Regions from separate parts of the Homo sapiens genome. Here region 1 is linked to region 2. Evidence: promoter capture Hi-C in 16 types of primary human blood cells and fetal thymus (Javierre and others, 2016). All regions are on one chromosome and are shown on one strand. The core of a region is centred on a gene start or on the middle of the fragment in contact, and the rest is flanking DNA. Distances in the headings are between cores, read along the strand shown. Region 1 overlaps TP53TG1 (TP53 target 1). Region 2 holds the start of ELAPOR2 (endosome-lysosome associated apoptosis and autophagy regulator family member 2).

Region 1 (3,495 bases), core at 996-3,495, 280 kb before region 2:
ATTAAAAATTGACTATGAGTCAAAGTAACTTTTTGGAGGAAAATTTGTAAGTAGTACAAGTGGTGATAATTTTTTAAGTTGCCATTAAAAAAATCTTTTATTTTTGTTCTTCTGTAGTTCTTACTCAGCATACCACAAATTGCAAAAGACTTTATAGATAAGTCTAGATAAATTTCACCATTAAAAAGTATTAAAATGCTAGACTAAGAAGTTCATGTTTCAATCTGCATAACTGGCTTCCTGCTAAGATTTGTGACTCTAATAAGTAAGGAGATATGGTAAATAGCCCTAATCTATGGGAGACCTGTAACCTCCTTTCATTCTGATGTATAAAATGAACATGTTGAAGAAATAATTTTGTGATGTTTCTTCTTTTTAATGGGGGGGCAGTAGAAATATGGTCATTTTGGGAAGCAGCCAACAGCAAATTAAAGTACACTGGACGCAAAGAGGGCAATGTAGCATTAAAAATGAACTCCACTGCCAACAGCAGATGAACAGTGTTTGATACAAAAGGTCTCTTTTTAGTACTAATCATTGATTTGGGGTTGCTTTTGATGATATTTACAGTACATGAAAAGTTGCCACCAAAATCTGAGGGGAAGAGTTAAGATAACTATGATGTTTTTGCATCTCAGAAAAAAATACCTTCTTACTAAACAAAATATAACATTTAAAAATTTTGTTAACATCTTTGTTGAAATATAATTTACATACCATAAAGTTCGGCCATTTAAAGTCCACAAATCAATGGTTTTACTATATTCACAGGGTTATGCAGTCACCATAAGCTAATTTTAGAACATTTGGTTCAAATATTTAAAAAGATTATTTTCTACATACTCAAATCTCTGTTCCACTCATTTTTTTCAGTCCCACAACTTTTTCTATATCCAAAAATCCAGGCATCTTTACAGGAACATTTTGTTTCCATTGAAATAAATAACAAGACTGGGAAAAGAGTGAAGCAAAGTGGCTCTAAATTCTGTGTTACCAACAGGCATTAAACATGATTCATCAACTGACTGATGAATGTATGAACCACTTTTTGTTTGTCCATTCATCAGTTCATGGACATTTGGGTTGTTTCTACCTTTTGTCTATTTAAATAATGGTACTATAAACATTTGTGTACAAGCTTTGTGTGAACAGGCTTTCAATTAGTATTTTAGGAGTGGAGTTGTGGGGTCGTATGTTAACTCTATGTTTAACATTTTCAAAAACCGTCAAACTGATTTCCAAAGGAACTGTACCGTTTTTACATATCTGCCAGCAATATGAGTTTCAATTTCTCTGTGCCTTTAGTTACAATAACAATATAACAGCCCTTGCTATTGTCTTTTAAAAAAAATACAGCCACTCTAATGAATGTGAAGTGGTGTCTTGTGGTTTTGATTTACATTTTTTTGTGAAGACTAAGAGTGTTGAGTATTTTTTCATGTGCTTATTGGCCATTTATATATCCTCTTTGGAGAAATGTTTATTAAGATCCTTTTCCCATTTTTTAATTAATGCACACATTTTAAAATTATATTAAAATTAGGCAATGGTCTGACCATAAAAAGGCTGCTTATGGAATACTGTTATGTTAAACTTCACTTACAGGATGCTAAATCCTTAGAACTGAGGTTTTCCCCAGAAAAAGATTAATGGAAACATCAGTTGCTTTTCAGACTTGATTCTGCTTCAAAAGATGATTTTACACAAATAATTTTAAAAAACTTTAGTACACAACGAATCACTTTTAGTTTGGTATGCATCCACATTTCAGCATTTAGTAGTGGTCCTGAACAGAAAGTGAAAAACACAGCAATTTTTCCAGGAGGTCAAGTCTGCCAATTTCAGGGATCTGCTGTGTACCCCAATTTCTTTCTTAATCCCTGCTGAGGATCTTGAGAAGCAGGAGCAGCACCAAAACCAAGGCATGCACTGGATCCAAGGTTCTTTTTGTTCCAGTTGTGAGATTCCAAACTAGACCCCAGTGGATTGCAAGGATGACCAAATGAGAGCCCTGCTTAAAACTTCTTCAATTTTTAAAAGCGAAAGCAATTACAAGAAAATGAAACAATGCAGAGGGATCATATGTGCTTTCAAGTGTCTTCATGTGCTCTTTCTCCAGGTTTAACCACCAAGGACTCTGAGAGCTGGCAGGTCTGAGTAACCCTGGTAACAATTCTCTTCACCTTATCAAAACCTGAGCTAAAACCAATGCATCAGCTGATGATGACAGCAGAGAGTGGCAGGGCTGAGGACCCAAAGTCATTTCCCAGGCTGGCGGAGAGTGAGTAAATGAGATTCTAAAACTAAACAAGGGAGGTCAGAGACTCTTTCCAACCTTACCTGATGGCTTCTGGCCAAAGCAAGGAAGTGTCTTGGAAGGTGTTGGTTGGTGATGGTGCGAAAAGACACTTGAGAAGGAGGGAAGAAAAAGCAGCGCCCCTTGATAAAGGTGGGGGAGAGAAGATATGGGGAAAGCCCTGAATTCCTCATCAAAGGCCAATCTCAGAGAGTAGCAGGGGGTTACAATCTATGCTTTGGCCAAGGGCGGGAGTGGAGGAGTGGGGGTTAGGATGATGGCTTGGAGCGGGCATCATTTAAGACTTAAAGAAACCATGGGTGCAGGCAAAGCACCCCACACACTAAGCAGTAGTCCCACAGGCTGCGACCTGAAACCTTCACATCTACTCTTAACAAGCCCCCATGGCTAGAGGGCTGTTGCAAGGGGAGAAGGCAGAGACCCCAGACCATGTAATCAACAGCAAGGTGATTGTGTGATGTGTCTTTTCCCATATTTAGGAGGGTGAGTTTTATGAATGACTTTAAATATTATGCACTTAATGGTTATGTTTATTACTTCGTACAAAATATTTCTGAGGCCAGGCACAGTGGCTTATGCCTGTAATCCCAGCACTTTGGGAGCCCAAGGTGGGTGGATCGCTTGAGCCCAGGAATTCGAGACCAGCCTGGGCAACATGGCAAAACCTTGTCTCTGCAAAAAATTTTTTAAAAATTAGCCTGGTATGGTGGTGCACACCAGTAGCCCAGCTATTTGGAAGGCTGATGTGGGAGGGTCACTTGAGCCTAGGAGGTCAAGGCTGCAGCAAGCCATGATCATGCCACTGCACTCCCACCTGGGTGACAGAGTGAAACTCAGTCTCAAAAATAATAGTAATGTTTGAGGAACCATTCAATTTAAGCAGGTACTAAAGAAGAAATTAAGGGCTCTTCCTTACTGAAAGTTTTTCCCTGAGAAATAGGAACTTGGCAACTTTATGCAAAACTTCAAATGACTTATTATTAGGTCAATAAAAATAAAATAATGTTGAAGCGCTAAGATTGTTAAAGAAGCTTAAAGATATTGTTATATTAGTGTTTACACAATAATGTGTCAACTTTTATTCAGCATTATCTCCTTGCTTTTTGAGGCAAATATATTTTGTATAAAGTTTTGAGAATGTCTGAGGTGTTTCCTGTACCTCTTCTGGGCTCTCAGTC
Region 2 (3,764 bases), core at 690-3,189:
GATGACAAGCTTCTGCCAGAAAAGCTATCAGAAGTAAATTTAAAAGACTACAAAAAAGTATTTGTAAGATATATGATAAACATACACAAAGCTTATGAAGATTGCTAACGAATCAATAAAAAATGGAACTTCAATAAAATGGCTAAAGTGTGCCAGTGAAAAATTCTCACACCCTGACATGAGAAGGAAAAATGCAAATAGCTAGTAGATATATATAAAAAATCACTCGATGTCACCAATGATAAAAATACATTTTAAAAATAATAGCTTTTGTCTCTTCTACCAAAATGATAAATATCTGAAGTATTATAATCTAGGGTGATGTGAAATAAATACTCATAAACTGCTGGTAACAATTGCTACAAATTTTTTGGAAGGAATTTGTACACTATTCGTCAAAAACTTTAAAAATACACATATCATGTGATCCAATGTTTTCACTTCTAGAAAGTTATCATAAAATATTTAAAGATGCACACAGATTATGTTCCAAGGGCATTCTTTCCAGAATTATTAATAACACTGAATCCTTAAACAATGCCTAATATCTAATAGTAAATTACATGTATCTAAAGAGTAGAAAATATTTTACAATTATTAAAGTTGTGTTGTTGGAGACTTTAATGACTTGAGAAAATATTTATGTTATTAAGAATAAAAATAAAAGCAGGTTACAAATTATTATTCCAGTTTTGCAGTACACACAGAGTTAAAAAAAAAAAAGCAAGGAAATTCCTCAACATGTTAATACCATTAACAATGTTATCTCTGGGTGGTAGGATCTCTAGTTATTTTTATATTCTTCCTGATACTTTTCAATATTTTCCAAAATGTTTACAAATAACATATATTGTTATAATCAGAATATAGGTGTGATACACAAATCTATATGTGTATACATACACACAAACACACATATACAGAGACTTTCATGTGGAAATTTTGTTAAAAGGATATTAGAGATAATGCCACAAACAAATGTGCCACAGGCCAACTTATAATGAGTGGGCCACGTGGATTTGTCCAGATATTCAATAATCAGAAATTTGGATGCTTCTTTTGAAAAACACAATAACTCACCCATTTACAGAATCTGAGATCAAGAAGGGATCTTGAGATCCTTGCCACTGAGGAAGGCCTTATGTCCATCTTGTTCACCATCACCTAGTTCAGTATGTTTTTGAATGAAAGAAAAAACGAAGAGCACCTCAATCATCGCACAGATGGAGAAACTGTTTCCTCCAGAAAACACAGGGCTTAATGCCCAATGTTACACATCTCCACAAAATAACACCAATAGCAGCAATAATTATGGCTACTACTACCAACACATGTCACCTACTGTGTGCCAGGCACTCTTCCAAGTGCTTTATGTACATCAACTTACTTAATCCTCATAATAATCCTACGTGGTGGGTATTATTTTCATTAAATAGGTGAGAAAACTGAGTCACACACCACGTCTACACCTCAGTCCTCTTTCTTCCCCGCCATTTCATGCACACCCTAACTAGAAATTCGATCTGACGCTAGCCAGCATGGATCCTTACAAGGGATGTTCCGAGGGCACATCTGCGTGTTTGTGTGCAATGAGGAAAGTGGCGAGCTTTTTAAAGACCCACCGCCAGAAAACAATGTCCTGATGTCCTGTATTTACTCTGGCTTCATCCCGGGAGCGCCCCTCCCAGTGGGCCACGGGGACCTGAGACAGGCTACTCCACGGGGTCCCCAGCCTCTCTCGCCCTCTAGCGCGAGGCGAGCGCCGCGCAGCCCCTGGGGACCCGCCGGGCTGGGCCGCAGCCCCCGCCCGCGCCACCTGCTCCCCAGCTCCAGCGTCCCCGCCCCGCGTCCCGCCCCCGCGCCGCGCCCGCGCCCCGCGGTCCCTCCCTCCGGCGTGACGGGAGCATCGGCGCTGGCTGCCCGGGCCGCGAGCGCAGCAGAGCTGTCAGCGGGCGGACGGGCAGCGGGTGACGGAGCGGCGAGACGAGCGCACAGCAGTCGCGGCCCGGGAGCCGGAGCTGCCGCCGCACCCCGGGAAGGCTGCCTTGCCGCCGGCCCGCCGACCGCGGCCGGACGAAGATGCTGTTCCGCGCCCGGGGGCCGGTACGGGGCAGGGGCTGGGGGCGGCCGGCGGAGGCTCCCCGCCGCGGGCGCTCGCCGCCCTGGAGCCCCGCCTGGATTTGCTGCTGGGCGCTCGCCGGCTGCCAGGCGGCCTGGGCTGGGGACCTGCCCTCCTCCTCCAGCCGCCCGCTTCCTCCTTGCCAGGAGGTGAGCAGCACCTGGTCCTCTACCTGGAGTTTGCTGGGGGAGGGCGCGGAAGATGAAGGCTGAGAGCGGTTCCTGTTTATTTCTGTTTGCCATCCCCTTTTCCTTTGCTTGGAGAACAGGGGCTTTCGTTTGCTTCGAGGGGTGAAGTTGCCCGCCCTGGTAGCTGGCCCGGAGAGGGTGTGTGGCTTCGCTGTCTCTCGGGGGATGCTTTTCTGTCCGCGCTTGTGTCTTTTGGGGGCTCTGCAGGACTTTGCGGCGTCCTTTTTGGACAGCCAGGTTTGAGGACCTGGGGTCGAGGGAAAGATTTCAGGAAGGGGAGGAGACTGGGGAAGCCCCACCAGTGGGATTTGAAGAACCATCTCATCACAGCTTTTCCAGAGAGCCAGACACAGACACCAGAGGATTTCCCGCTCCTCCTCCCCCTGTCTCCACTCCCCTGTCTCTGCAAACGCCTTCGTCCTACTCCCCTGCCCTCAGCTTCCTGATTAAGGCCCTGTGGGTTTGCTAAGCCAATGTATGGTGTCACTTAGCATCCTTCTGACAAAATGTGGATTTGAATTTGGGGGGGAAAAAAAAGGAGTATGTACTTGGTAGAGAAGATGCAGGTTGATGATGGAGAAAATTAGAAAAGACAGTGAATATGCTTCTTTTGGGAGGTGCTTTATCACCTGGCTGAAGTATTGCCGCGGTGTATTTTATAGCTTGTAATCATTGTTGTTTTACAGCCAAAAAGGATAAACTATGGGAGATGAGATTTTTATCTGGCTTTTAGAAGAACGAGACAGTGTGCCAAAAATTTACAGGGGGTGTCATTGGTTCTTGTATTGGGTGTTTATCTTTCCATTTAGTGTTCAGAAAGTGCATCCTCTTAATGAAAATCAATGAGGGGAAGGAAGCAACATTTCTGACCTACTTTGATTGTGTTGGGAGGATATATGGAATAGATACTGTTTTTAGGAAGATTGTTAGGAATCAGGGCGATGGGTCGTTTTAATTAATGTAGCAAAAATAGGTTAGCCAATAGCCCCTCTGGGAAGAAAGGCCAGACCCTCTTGTTTGTGTATGTTGCTCTAACTTCTGAATTTTACCGAGACTTGAATTACAGAGTATCTGTGTTCTACACATCATCCATCATCTATGGATTTTCGTCTTTCTCTCCTACAGTACAGGTCCCAGGACAGACTGAAATGAAAGAGAATCGGATCAAAGGCTTGTGTGCGAACACACAGCAATGTTGTAATTGGGGAAATCAGGGCAAGAGCTCAACAAACAGCTGTGTTTAATTTTAGGGCTTTTTAGTATAATGAGCTTAATCTATATTCTACAACTTTACATATCACCTGGGAATAATCCATTATTCCAGGTTTCCACAGAAAGCTGCTTCTTGGACATCTCAGATTGAACAGTTGTGACAAGATAAACTTTATCCTCCAGCCCCCAACTTCTAATATGCAGAATATATTTTTCTAAACTGAAAAGTCTTAAGCTTCTGATAA

The links. The method cuts DNA at HindIII sites, captures the fragments that hold promoters and counts their contacts. A CHiCAGO score of 5 or more calls a contact.
Region 1: a contact is called between a fragment that was not itself captured here and the fragment with the promoter of ELAPOR2 in region 2, in 2 of 17 cell types (activated CD4 T cells and non-activated CD4 T cells). The highest score is 5.2, in activated CD4 T cells.

The regions. Positions count from the first base shown.
Region 1 is chr7:87,340,309-87,343,803 of GRCh38, reverse strand. It overlaps TP53TG1 (TP53 target 1), which reads left to right. Exons shown (of 3, transcript NR_015381.1): 2 at 2,120-2,281. Among named protein-coding and RNA genes, the nearest start is that of TP53TG1, 3.4 kb to the left of the region's middle. RefSeq lists an enhancer at 1,962-2,031. The HindIII fragment of the contact is 2,210 bases long and covers 1,141-3,350 here.
Region 2 is chr7:87,057,829-87,061,592 of GRCh38, reverse strand. It overlaps ELAPOR2 (endosome-lysosome associated apoptosis and autophagy regulator family member 2), which reads left to right and starts at 1,939. Exons shown (of 22, transcript NM_001142749.3): 1 at 1,939-2,268. The coding sequence starts at 2,080. RefSeq lists silencers at 1,662-2,051, 2,142-2,211 and an enhancer at 2,477-2,977. The HindIII fragment of the contact is 3,663 bases long and covers 94-3,756 here.